Linked DNA regions of Homo sapiens: all the other regions are linked to region 3. The links are contacts of gene promoters, found by promoter capture Hi-C in blood cells and fetal thymus (Javierre and others, 2016). All regions are on one chromosome and are shown on one strand. Each heading gives the region's core, a stretch centred on a gene start or on the middle of the fragment in contact. The rest is flanking DNA. Distances are from core to core; before and after follow the strand shown.

What was found. The method cuts DNA at HindIII sites, captures the fragments that hold promoters and counts their contacts. A CHiCAGO score of 5 or more calls a contact.
Region 1: a contact is called between the fragment with the promoter of POLE2 here and the fragment with the promoter of NIN in region 3, in 2 of 17 cell types (non-activated CD4 T cells and naive CD4 T cells). The highest score is 5.6, in non-activated CD4 T cells.
Region 2: the fragment with the promoter of KLHDC2 here is called in contact with the fragment with the promoter of NIN in region 3 in 7 of 17 cell types (monocytes, total CD4 T cells, naive CD8 T cells and 4 more); the score reaches 10.5 in monocytes.
Region 4: the fragment with the promoter of RPS29 here is called in contact with the fragment with the promoter of NIN in region 3 in 9 of 17 cell types (activated CD4 T cells, non-activated CD4 T cells, naive B cells and 6 more); the score reaches 9.9 in activated CD4 T cells.

Annotation. Positions count from the first base shown.
Region 1 is chr14:49,686,567-49,689,762 of GRCh38, reverse strand. It overlaps POLE2 (DNA polymerase epsilon 2, accessory subunit), which reads left to right and starts at 1,549. Exons shown (of 19, transcript NM_002692.4): 1 at 1,549-1,627. The coding sequence starts at 1,560. RefSeq lists a silencer at 1,437-1,486 and enhancers at 791-1,550, 1,551-2,312. The HindIII fragment of the contact is 3,892 bases long and covers 1-3,013 here.
Region 2 is chr14:49,766,808-49,770,016 of GRCh38, reverse strand. It overlaps KLHDC2 (kelch domain containing 2), which reads right to left and starts at 1,864. Exons shown (of 13, transcript NM_014315.3): 1 at 1,396-1,864. The coding sequence starts at 1,548. RefSeq lists silencers at 1,635-1,814, 1,985-2,064, 2,405-2,464. The HindIII fragment of the contact is 13,494 bases long and covers 1-3,209 here.
Region 3 is chr14:50,829,187-50,832,475 of GRCh38, reverse strand. It overlaps NIN (ninein), which reads left to right and starts at 1,314. Exons shown (of 31, transcript NM_020921.4): 1 at 1,314-1,470; 2 at 1,959-2,012. RefSeq lists silencers at 973-1,422, 1,473-1,752, 1,823-1,872, 1,893-2,012 and an enhancer at 2,583-2,632. The HindIII fragment of the contact is 8,436 bases long and covers 1-2,575 here.
Region 4 is chr14:49,584,608-49,587,897 of GRCh38, reverse strand. RPS29 (ribosomal protein S29) reads left to right here and starts at 1,518. Exons shown (of 3, transcript NM_001032.5): 1 at 1,518-1,613; 2 at 1,849-1,948. The coding sequence starts at 1,552. It also overlaps RN7SL1. RefSeq lists enhancers at 958-1,467, 1,340-1,839, 2,438-2,487. The HindIII fragment of the contact is 6,928 bases long and covers 482-3,290 here.

The DNA.
Region 1 (3,196 bases), core at 300-2,799, 1.1 Mb after region 3:
TGTGGTCTCTGATTTAACCTTCCAGAGTTGTTTTGTTGTTGTTGTTGCTGTTGTTTTGAGACAGAGTCTCACTCTTGTTGCCTAGGCTGGAGTGTAATGGCCCCATCTCGGCTCACCGCAACCTCTGTCTCCCGGGTTCAGACAATTCTCCTGCCTCAGCCTCCCGAGTAGCTGGGATTACAGGCATGCGCCACCATGCCTGGCTAATTTTTTTGTATTTTTGTAGAGACGGGGTTTCTCCATGTTGGTCAGGCTGGTCTCGAACTCCTGACCTCAGATGATCCGCCCACCTCGGCCTCCCAAAGTGCTGGGATTACAGGCGTGAACCACTGCGCCCGGCTTTTTTTGTTTTTGAGACAGAGCCTTGCTTTGTTGCCCAGGCTGGAGTGGTGGCACGATCTCGGCTCACTGCACCCTCCGCCTCCGAGGCTCAAGAGATTCTCCTGCCTCAACCTCCCCAGGAGCTGGGATTACAGGCGCGCGCCACCACGCCTGGCTAATTTTTTTTTTTTTTTTTTTTTTTTGGTAGAGACGGGGTTTCACCATGTTGGCCCGGCTGTTCTCGAACTCTTGGCCTCAAGTGATCTGCCAGCATCGGCCTCCCAAAGTTCTGGGATTACAGATGTGAGCCACCGCGCCCGGGCCCAGAGGTTTTTAAAATGCAAAAACAAATACATATACTTTTGTTTCCCTTCCTTCATTAAACTTCGCTTTTTTTTAAAAAAGAAAAAAACCCGTATACGTTGGAGGTCACTTTATATTGGTACTGTGAAATCATCCTCCTGTTTTATAAGCCGCGTGTTTACTTATAAGCACTCCACGGGTTAGTCAACTCATTGGAGCAAGCGTTTTGAAGTGTGGCAGATTGACAGTCCACCTGAAATCAGAATAACTGAGTTCAAATCCTGACTACACCATTTAACTCGTCGTTTCATCTTGAGCAAGTCCTTTACCATTTTTGTGTCTCAGTTTTCTCATCTGTAAAATGAGGCTGTTGTGGAAAAGACAGTAGACAGCTCACTGGGCTGTCATGAGCAACACATGAATTCACACATTTAAAGTGCTTATGACAGTGCATGGCGCATACGAAGCCCTCAAGTTAAATAAAAATCGGGGTAGGTGGGAGCGATGGAGATTTATAACAGCTTCCGGTAAATGTCGAGGCACAGTATTTCCAGAGCTTGTGCGAAGTAGGGAACCCAACAGCTCTCATGGCCTCGAAAGAAGGGGGATCCTGTGTCCGGGAAGCTCGGCCGCAGTCCTGCAATGTCTAGGGCAGCGGTGAGAGCGCTGTGGCTGGCTCAACGCAGCCCGACACCAGGGAAGACGCTCTGGCCCTCAGTTTCCCGGCAGCAAAGGAGCGCGAGGTGGTCTCCACTTTCAGCCTACTCGGTCCGGGGTTGCGAACTGTAAGGTCTGAGTTGCTGCGGCGCAGGCAGCGGAGACCAAGCAGGGATCTTAACAGGGTTTAGCGCCACGCGGGCCAGGGCCGAGGCCGGAGCTGGGAGGGGCGCGCCCGGGAAGGGGCGGAGCTGCGGCGGTGGCGCCAAATCGCAAATATGGCGCCGGAGCGGCTGCGGAGCCGGGCGCTCTCCGCCTTCAAGTTGCGGGGCTTGCTGCTCCGTGGGTGAGTGGGCTCGGGCAGCTTGAAGGGCGAGAGGGAAGAGCTGGGGCCCGTCTGCCTGGTGCGGCAGCGGGACGCACCGCGGCGGCTCCCCGCGCGCCGAGAGGGGGCTTGACCTTAAATTTCAGAGTTCTAAGAAGCGGTCGGGCGCGGTGGCTCACGCTTGTAATCCCAGCACTTTGGGAGGTCGAGGCGGGCGGATCACGAGGTCAGGAGATCGAGACCATCCTGGCCAACATGGTGAAGCCCCGTCTCTACTAAAAATACAAAAATTAGCTGGGCGTGGTGGCGCGCGCTTGTAGTCCCAGTTAGTTGGGAGGCTGAGGCAGGAGAATCGCTTGAACCCGGGAGGAGGAGGTTGCGGTGAGCCGATATCGTGCCACTCTACTCCATCCTGGCGACAGAGAGAGACTCCATTAAAAAAAAGTTCTAAGAAGCGAGGTGGATCTTGAGGCTGCCGTGCCTTCTTTGGTTTCCCCGACCCATGCGAGGAGTTTAATGTTTCTTCTAGGCGGGCCGAGGCTCTTCTGCACATGTCAAACTGAGCCCGAGAAGCTGCAACCTATCTATGGCAGCCGGTTATCAACATTGTGACCTGGACAGCTCTCAGGCTCCCGGGAAGGTTGCTGAGACATAAGATGAGAGACCCGAGAAAGCCCACTTGCACGTCTGCAGTTGCCAATTTATGTGAAAGTCAGGTTTCCTGGGCATATCCGTGTTTTTGAGGACCTATAGAACATATGAACCTTCCCAAGATTTCTCTCATTAAATCTGCTCCGTGTTTTAGAGTTCTATATGTACGTGTGTGTGTGTGTGTGTGTGTGTGTGTGTGTGTGTGGTGTGTGTGTATATATATATATGTATTTTTTTTTTTTTGAGTCATGGTCTCACTCTCGCCCAAGCTGGAGGGCAGTGATGCGAACTTGACTTACTGCAGCCTCAACCTCCTGGGCTGAAGTAGCTGGGACTGCAGGCATGGGCCACCATACCTGGCTGATTTTTTGTTGTTGTATGTTTTTTAGAGACGGGGTCTGGCTATGTTGCCCAGGCTGGTCTTGAACTCCTGGGCTCAAGTAGTCCTCGCGCCGTGGCCTCCCAGAATGCTGGAATTACAGGCGTGAACCACTGCGCCTGACCTAGAACACAATATTTTATACATATTGAAATACCTGCTGGATTGGATATACCTCTCTGTATCAGTTTTTATTGCTTTTGTGTGTGTAGATTTTTGGTTGGTTTTGTGAGTTTTATGGGACTTTTAACTGTGCTTTGGGAGATGCCTTGGGAGAAAATAATGAATTTTGTTCAATTGGTCCTTGACATTTTGAAAGCATGAGGAACTGATGAATTAACTTTCTTTTCGCTTAGAATTTGACCTAATATTAAGCTTTTGTTCATTAATTATTTCAGTCATAAGTATACTTAAATCTGTTAGCTGCAAAGCACCGTGCTGGGGTAAGGGGGTGCAATAGAGAGCAAGAGCTTTGTAGGGGGCAGATAATGTATTCTATTGCTGCGTGACAAATTACCCCACAATTTAAAGGCTAAAACAGTACACATTATCTCAAATTT
Region 2 (3,209 bases), core at 615-3,114, 1.1 Mb after region 3:
TTTTTATAAGGGTGACTACATGCTTGCCCCCCCGCCCCCCTTCTTGCAATTCTCTACCCCTTTCTAAAGTATTTTTGAGACAGTTTCCTTCTTGTTGCCCAGGCTGGAGTGCAATGGCGCCGTCTCAGCTCACTGCAAACTCCGCCTCCCTGGTTCAAGTGATTCTCCTGCCTTAGCCTCTCAAGTAGACGGGATTAGGGCGCCCGTCACCACGCCAGGCTAATTTTTTTTTTTGTATTTTTAGTAGAGACGGAGTTTCACTATGTTGGCCAGGCTGGTCTCGAGCTCCTGACTTCAGCTGATCCACCTACCTTGGCCTCCCAAAGTGCTAGGATTACAGGCGTGAGCCACCGCGCCCGGCCCCCTTTCTATTTTCTAACCACATTCATTGGAAACTGGGGAAAACACTGCAGATTCATTAGGATTGGCAAAAAATTACTTTTGCAGTTAAACCAAAATAAAGTATCAGGACAGCCATCTTTGAAAGCTATCTCAAAAATGGTCAACTATGATCAAGTCAGCTGTACCATAAGCTAAAAACAATCACAAAGCAAGTCATCCAAGGCACGGGCGTGGGGAGGGCGGAGAACATTTTCAAGACCAAAGAGGAATTTTGTGGTAGGACTGGCTCAGAGCCATCCTAGCAAATAAAATTCTAGATTTCCGAGGTTAGCAGGGTAAAGAATGGCAACTGGCTTTAAACTGCTAACTAATCACGTTGTTTATAACCAGGGGATCGGAGAGTCAAAGAGCTGCACTCTGTAGTTCATTTGATGCTGGGGATTTTTTGGTTACTGGTGGAGCTTTTCCATTATCTTAATAGGGGTGTCTGCTGAAAAACTTCAACCCAGCTGAAGCCAGAAGGAAAACAGTCCTGATGGCCATTTGCACAGGCGGGAAGGCTGAATAAGGTGGTTCCTGTAACCTTTTGGAATTCCAGTTTTCCTACACCTCGGCCTCCCTGTAAGTGGGCAGCGGTTCCCAGCTCCAGAGGGTGAAGTCCTCGTAGGCCGTCCTCATAACGCGTCTGAGTGATATCACACACCGTCACCTTTCACACCCCAACCCTTCCGAATGCACCGCCCAAGCAACATTAACAGGGCCTTCCCCGGAATAACGCTCCAATGGCAACAACGGGGGTGGGAGTGAGTTGGCTTTGTGAGCACCAGGGTGACATGACAGCAGCCCTGGAGGTTCGAGACGGGTTGGGGTACTCGAGAGAAGGAAGATTCCCGCGCGCAAAAAAAAAACAACCAACGGGCAGAGTCTGAGGTGGGGCGCGCGACGCAGGCGGGGAGCGCCCTCGGCGGCCCGCTCTGGCCTCCCCGCCTGGCCGCGAACGCAGACCCGAGTCACAGCCGAGCGACGTCCGTCGCGGCCCGGCCACTCACTGACCTTGTAGCCGCCCCAGACGAACATGTGGCGCCCGTCGCTGACGGCTACGTGGCCGCTGCGCTCAGCGGGGCAGGCAAGCTCCATGGACTCATAGCTCTCGAAGGCTGGCCCAGGCAAGTCGTCAGCCCGCAGATCCTCGTTGCCATCAGCCATCTTGAGGCTGCACTTTTGCTAACCAACAATGCCCACACCCGCGAGGGGCCAAAAAAACAAAGGAAAAGGAGAGAAATGCACAGCGGCGCGAGGCAAGGAAAAGGCGGTGGCGAAAGGGACGGCGTTGAGGCCTCTCTGCCGCCTGCGCTCGCGTTTCCCAGCCTCCTCGGCCGAGGACGGCTCTCCGCCGCCGCCGGGGCACGCCTGCAGACAGAGGGGCCGCGAGCGGAGCCGGGCGGCGGCGGCGCGGGCCCGGGACTCGGGGCACTGCAGGGAAGCGGTCCGCGTCGGGCCGGCTCCCTATTGCAGCCCGTCTGCCCCGCCTCCTGCAGTCCACGGCCTTGTTTACGCCGCGGCCGGAAGCCGCCCGTTCCGCTGACGCCGCCCGCCGAGCTCCGGAAGCGAGGCTGCCGCTCAGCGCCCCCAGCGCCGGGTCCTCCAGCCGCCGCCGCCGCCGCCGCCGCCTCTGCCCGCGCCTCCGCCTACGGCCTGGGCACCGCAGATCTATGGGGCCCGGCGACTTCTAGTCGCGCTTCGAGTCTCCTTTCACTGAGGGAACCACAGGGATAATGTCCTGAATCGGTCCCTGAAAGCTGCTGAATTTTAGCCGGATTGCCGCAATTTTTTTTTTCTTCCCGAGGATTTCTATTCGTTTGATTGAGGGATGATCTCAGAGGGTTCACAGCCCGGGCAGGGGCACCAGAATTGCTCCACTAGCAAGTTTCTGGTCTCGCCTTAGAGTCGATGCAGGCCCTGCTGTTCTGCGGGCGCGAGGGCAGTCGCTTAGCTCTCACGTGGGGCCCAGCCCGATCCCCGGGGGCCTCTCCTGAGCTCCTGCCGCCCCTGCCGGGCGCCGCCTCTGCGGGAATCTGACGTTGCCGCCGCCGCCGCTGCCGCCGCCAGCCGGGCTGCAGAGTTGGCTTGAAAAGCGTTTCCGAAGCCGTAACCACCCTTTTCTTCAGAAAGAAAGGCGGATCCTTTTCACGCACACACAGCTTTCTCTTATATGATACCTTTCAATTGGGCCAAAAGAAAATTACGAGTTACTGTGCTTGATACCTCACCTGTAAAATAGGGTGGGACAAAAATAATCTTAAATTCTTGATCTTACAGTGCCTGTAGAATTTATCGTGTTTGGTAGGAGGGACGTGCTTCATTATCTCCATTTCCCTCATCTTCTGGTTGGGAGCACTCCATAGAAAAGGAACACTTTGAACAATAAAAGGCTTTTTTTTTTTAATTATTAAAATGCTTATAGCCTGCCACTCCTCCCCTAGTGTGCCAGTGTGTTTACTTGAACTCAAGAACTTGAAAGTTACTTAAGAGGATTAATTAAAGCCTTCAACAAGGAAGCAAATCACCTTGAGGCTGTTAAGACCTTATCTGCCATCCACCCTGGTTGGTGCCCTCAAATCTGTCTGGTTCACAGAATTCCTTGCAGCAGTGTCTTCTCCCAGTCGAATTATGCTCACTAGACTTTGGGGTTATCGAAGTTCCTTGTGAACCAACCTCGTGAATCTGATCGAGTCACTTAAAAACCTTGAGCTGGCTCCCGTCGTCCTTAGTAGAATCCAAAATTAATATCTCGGCTGGGCGCGGTGGCTCACGCCTGTAATCCCAACACTTTGGAAGGCCGAGGCAGGCGGATCACCTGAGGCCAG
Region 3 (3,289 bases), core at 65-2,564:
TTTTTAAAAAAATTTTTTGAGGTAACTGTAAATTCGCTTGAAGTTGTAAGGAATAATAGAGAGATTCCCTATAGACGCTTCACTTAATTTTTCTCAATGGTAACATTTTGCATAACTGTAGAACAATATTACAATCAGTAAATGGACATTAGTGTAGTCCAAATGTCTTATTCAAATTTCATGAGTTTCACGTGCTCTCATTTGTGAGTGTATATTCAGTTCTATGCAATTTTGCCACATATGTGATCTGCTTTTGAATCTCAGTTCTGTGGAGTTCCTGCTGTGTGATCCTGAGGAAGCTCTTTGACTTCTGGGAGATCCATTTTCCTCATCTGCAAAATAATGTCTGCCTCCTAAGAGTGATGTGAGAATTAGATAAGATAATTTCTGTCGAGTTTCTAGCGCACTGGATTCTCAAGGAATGCTGGTTTCCTCTTGTCTGTTGCTTGCTTTCTCGGTAGAAAAGGAATCACCAGTTTCCTGCTAAAATAACCAGACTTGTGGGTTGTAATCCATCAGGCGGATCCTTCAAGGGCAACACATTTAACCCTGCAGCTCAAAAAGAACCATGGCCTGGACTTGGGATCCTATTTGACTGCAATGAGATCAGAAGTGTAGGGATGGGGGAGTGAGAACGCAGACTCTGGGGTAGTAGGTAGGAGGCGATTAATATCGAGCAACTGTTGGGCTGGGAACCACCAACTCCAAGGAGTTTTCGTCCTGTGTGGCTTGCGACCGAGGGTTAGCTTCACCCGGAGAAGGCTGCACAGGGGCGGGAGCCTGTGAGGACGTGGTGGGCAGGTGCGGAAGCCAGTGTAGACCCGGCAGGAGGGTCGCGCTCGCTCTACAGGGTTCCGAGTCACTTCTACAGCCCTTCTGCCTCCTGAACACCCTTTCCAATGTTGATGGCCAATCGACACCCGAGGGCTGGGAAATCACCCCCTTAAAGTCCCGCTTGCTGAAGGCGGGGGCCCTTCCTCTGCGCGAAGACGCTGCGGCCCGAGTGTCCGCGGTGCGGGTGAGTGTAGGCGTGTTGGGAAAGAAAGGGAGGCGGACAGGCAAGGGGCGAGGGTGGCAGCGCCAGCCCCAGCTCGGTGGCGACCTCGGGGCGCCAGCCTCCTACACCCGCACCCGGAGCCCCGGCGTTTCTAACTTCAGATCTCGGAGGCGGGCGCTCGGAGCGGGAGGGCGCGTCTGCGAGGGCTCAGGCGGCGCCGCCCGCTCCTCCCTCCGCTGCCTGAGCCGCGCGGGCCGCAGAGGAGGAGCCGCGCCGGGGCCGGCGTCGCCCTGACTCCTCCTCCCCGCGCGGGCCCGGCCCTTCCTCCCCGGCGTCCAGAGCTCCGGGTGGCCGCGGCCGAGCCGGGAGCCGAGCGCGCTGGGCGCGGCCGTCCCGCTGCCGCCGCCAAGCCCGGAGTGCGCCAGCGGCCATGGTTCCCGCGGCGGCGCCGGGCGCCTGAGCCCCGGGACGCAGTAAGTGGCGCAACCCCGGGGACCCGGACCCACGGCCTGGGGGTGCACGGAGGCCTCGCGCTGCCCCCGCGCCGTCGGCGAGGCCCTGAGAGCCCGGAGCGAACTGGGCACCGGATCACTCGGGGGCTTCCCATTTGGGGTCCGGGGCCAGCGGGGCGCAATCCCTGCGGGCCGGGAGGAAGCAGCGGCCGGGCGGGAGGACGAGGCGGGGACGGGGCTGCTTCGGAGGCGGGAGGAGGGGCCGGTCCCGGAGGCGCGGGCTGCGCGGGCGGGGGCGGGCCGGCGGGGGCGGGGAGGATGCGCGCTGCAGCCCGCGGCCCCCGAGAGCCGCGCTTTTGTAAGAGCTGGCCCCTTACATATGGAAATGACGCTCACGCGGGTCCCCATTCGCGTCCTTTTGAAGGACGCCCGCCCGGAACCGCTGCGCCGGCTGCGAAGTATTGTCCCGTTTCTCCAGCCCTAACAAAGCGTCCTCCTTCGCTTTGCAGAGCGCTGGAGGCGGGCTGCCGGCTGTGCGGGCGCTCCGGAGAGACCGACAGAAGGTAGGCGAGGGCGGCGGGGCCGGGGGAGCGCGCTGCCTGCCCACACAATGGGCTGTCTGAGGTTTCTGGTAGTGGCGATGGGCAGGCGAGTTGAGGACGCATCGCAGGTGGCCAGGGACTTGGGAGGCGCGCTTGTCCTGCGGCCGCACCTCCGCTTCCCCGCGCGGCAGCACCGCTGGGTTTGGGCACTTCCAGTACCCCCGACGCCCCGGCCGCCTGCCCGGAGCTGAAAGCCGCTTCTGTGCTTTGACCGAGAGCAGGCTTGAGTCCCCGAGGGAGCAGAAGGGGTGGTGGTTCCGTTGGCATGTGCCGCCCGTACAGCCTTGTGATTGAGACGCTGCAGAGGAAACTGCATGGGGAAATCCGAGGTGTTAGCCTGGGCTGTCTGAGTAGCGGAGAGCTGCTTGGAGCCCGGAAAGTGGAGATTTTTGGAGGTGTGCGGGGTCGATGCGCGTAAACAGTTTCCCAGTATAATGCCCAGGAGAAGGGGAAAGAACAAAATGACATTTGGTTATTGCCTAAAAGGTGTGGCATGGAGGTATGGAGTGTCGGGGAAGGAAGCTTCCAGCGGCTAGGCTTCTGTAGCTACCGAAGCGGCCCCTGACAGAAGGACACTAGGTGATGGGAACAGTCACTGCTTCCAGCTCTCGCTGCGAAGTTAAAAGAGATAGAGACGGAAAGAGGCAATTTCCCTAACCCCAGCCCTGACAACCCGAGGTGAAGGCACCAACAAAATGGGAGCTGGAAAGACTGCCCTACCATATATCATGTTTCCAGACAACTTGGATATTATGAGATCTGCTTTCTGCTCCTAACTAGGACAGATCCTCTCCTGGTGTTGAGGACTTCTAAGATGGGCTTGCCATACAGCTCAACTCCTGAATTTATTACATCGAAACAGATTGCGTAGTTGTCTTTTGTGACTGACATGGTAGCTTTGTAGGATGAGAATCCTGATAAAGTCCATCCTGACACATGAGGGAAGCCCCTGGAACCACGACGTTTCTCAGTTAGGTCCCCGTAAACACCATAACATACACACATGTTTGCATGATTCCGGAGGCTTGATGATCTAACAAGGAAAATTCCTTTTTTCTGTCAGTTTAATTTTACCTTGAGTCTTCTCTCGTGGTGAGCATATTATATAGGTGGCTGACCTGGAATATTGGTGGCTCTTGCTCCGGAGTTGAAGGGAGCTGAGGATTTCCAGAGTGTGTATAGGAGGAACATTACAGGCTGGCTGAAAAACGAGTTTGTGTGTTGTGGTCTCTTCAGCT
Region 4 (3,290 bases), core at 269-2,768, 1.2 Mb after region 3:
GCGCTTCCTTTCACCAGGCATTCCCTTCTGTCAAGTGCTGCCTGTAGAAATCCCATTCTTCAAGGTCTACCTCAAAGGTCTCTCAAATGTACCTCGAACTGGAATTAATTTCTCTTCTTGGCTCCTTTCGTACTTCATGAGCACACCCATGATTTAATACAGAATATTTTCCTTAGCTGTACATATGTTGTTGGTGCACAAACGTTGTATGTTGAAGTCTTGGAGATAATCCTGTTTCCCACAGATTAGAAAATTTTGAGGGCAAGGAGCAAGTTATATCTAGTTTACAAATCTCTGACTCCCCTCCTTCCTTAATCATATAATACAATGCCTAACTTAATGATTGGGTAGGGGGACCCCACTAGAACCCTGACATAACATACCTTAAAGAAGTGTTGTATTTCAATTTATAAAAGTTTATATGTAAAAGTTTCTGGAATTGTTGCACCCTGTGCTACATTTTATAAATCTAGTTAAAGCTTTGATTTCAGAGCAGTTTTATCTGGAGGCATTATAAATGACCATATGGAATGTAGGTATCTTTCAGCAGAAATTCGTTTATTGACATTGGTTTTTTGCATTTTTGCATTTGCTTTTCATTACTTGTTTTGTCACCAAATTATCTGGTCAAAGCAACATACACTGCACATTACTTGTTTATTACTTTACATTCAGCCAATTACATTTAAGAATCAAATACACTAAATGCCAAAGAATCTCATTTTTTTTTGGAATGGTGTAGGTGTATTTCTTGGAGGAGTGTGTCAAAAAAATAAATTTGAAAACGTACTCTCTTTAACAAAATAAAAGCAAACCCTACCGTTGACTCGTGATCATTACAGCTGATTTTAAGTTGTTTTGTAAATTTATTCCAGTAGGTGTCACTGGTGAGTCGAGGAAAAACTCCTTTCCCAAGTGTAACGTTTTAATTAAAAGAAAGTAAAAGGTTTAATCAATAAAAAAGACTATGAGAATATTCATCTCTTGAGAGTCCAAAATTAACGTATTTATTGTTCAAAAGAGACGGGGTCTCGCTATGTTGCCCAGGCTGGAGTGCAGTGGCTATTCACAGGCGCGATCCCACTACTGATCAGCACGGGAGTTTTGACCTGCTCCGTTTCCGACCTGGGCCGGTTCACCCCTCCTTAGGCAACCTGGTGGTCCCCCGCTCCCGGGAGGTCACCATATTGATGCCGAACTTAGTGCGGACACCCGATCGGCATAGCGCACTACAGCCCAGAACTCCTGGACTCAAGCGATCCTCCAGCCTCAGCCTCCCGAGTAGCTGGGACTACAGGCACGCGCCACCGCGCCCGGCGGTCGGATACCGGCGCAGAATAGCACTAGAAGCTGTGGTATGGTGACGTCATCAACTGGGCCAGCCCACAACGCCTCTAAGATTTCATTTTACTCACCCAGCGAAACAACCTGACCACACTGCGCACGCGTTTCCTTTGAGCACTGCATTCTGGGTAAACTGTCTCAAAAATTTGAAGAGCGCATGCGTGGGCCAGCTTCTTCCTTTTACCTCGTTGCACTGCTGAGAGCAAGATGGGTCACCAGCAGCTGTACTGGAGCCACCCGCGAAAATTCGGCCAGGGTTCTCGCTCTTGGTGAGAAATAGTTTGTGATTTTGGGGAAGCGTTGCCGTGGAGCGCTAGGCTGCTTAAAATCTCAAGTAGAGGAGGCCACGGGCGGCACGAGGGAGCACGCCGACTGGGAGTCGCTGGTGCCGCCATTACAGGCCTGTACTGTGGCTTGGGAGTCCCGGGATGCGGGTAGTAGCCGTCTGAGTGCGGAGTCTTGTAATTTCTATGACCTGCAAAACCGCTGTCTCTTTTCTTACAGTCGTGTCTGTTCAAACCGGCACGGTCTGATCCGGAAATATGGCCTCAATATGTGCCGCCAGTGTTTCCGTCAGTACGCGAAGGATATCGGTTTCATTAAGGTAGGCGTCTGCAGGCGTACTCCATGTTGTTTGGGCAGAGAAGGTTGTGGGGGTTATTTTTTCCGCGAAAGACAAACGGACAGATCTTCCCTGGAGTGGTAATTCTGAGCATTCGACCAAGAGCTTTTCCTCTTTTTTTAGTTGGTAGCTGGTGACAGTGTTGATGGTTTGGGCAATCAAATTAATAGAATGGAGAAGGTGAAGGACTTAGTCTTTCCTACTCCCTTTTTTACCTAGATAGCTTAGCCAGTTTTAGGTGCCGTGTATTGTGTTTGGTGAAATTCACTTTAGAGAAGCCACTAAAATTGTTTTACATTTGTTTCATTTATCAATCTTGTAAGTACCTATTCTCTTTTTTTTTTTTTTAGAGATAGGGTCTCCCTCTGTCGCCCAGGTTGAAGTGCAGTGGCGTTGTTACGGCTCACTGCAGCCTCGAACTCCTCCTGGTCTCAGGCGATCCTCTTGCCTTGGCGTCCCGAGTAGCTGGGACTAAAGGCTCTTGCCACCACGCGCGGCTGTACCTAGATATTTTCTAACCAAATATATGTATTAACCGCTGACCCCAAGTTTTTTTTTTTTTTTTTTTGAGTCGGAGTCGCACTCACCCAACCTGGAGTGCGATGGCGTGATCTCCGCTCAGTGCAACCTCCGCCTCCCCGGTTCAAGCGATTCTCCTGCCTCAGCCTCCTGAATAGCTGGGATTACAGGCGCCTGCCACCATGTCCGGCTAATTTTTTTATTTTTAGTAGAGACGGGGTTTTACCATGTTGGTCAGGCTGGTCTCGAACTGCTGACCTCGTGATCCGCCTGCTTCGGCCTCCCAAAGTGCTGAGATTACAGGCGTGAGCCACCGCGCCCGGCCAACCCAAAATGTTTGAAAGCGTCATACACTGGAATGAACTTAAAGTTTGGGGCCGGAAAGACATTGTTAAGATTCAGCAAACAATGGTCTGCCATTTAGTGCTTCTATCTCTTGATCATCTTAGTCAAGCTAGTGTTTATATGAAACTTTTGACTGTGAAACTTTTGGCTTCTGAAAATCTTTTAAATAGTAGTTTGGGTTTTTTTTTTTAAGGTGAAAACGAATTTATTATTGGCTCTTTGAGATAAAAATCACCAGCTTTCTGATCAATTATTTTGTATTGGATAGTACTGTTCTATAATGATGTAAATTTTTTTTTTTGTTTTGAAATTGGGTCTCCCTCTGTTTCCCAGGCTGGAGTGCAGTGGCGTGATCTCAGCTCACTAGCCTCCCCCTCCCGGATTCAAGCGATTCTCCTGTCTCAGCCTCCCTAGTACCTGGGATTACAGGCGTCTGCCACCACGCCCGGCCTATTTTTAT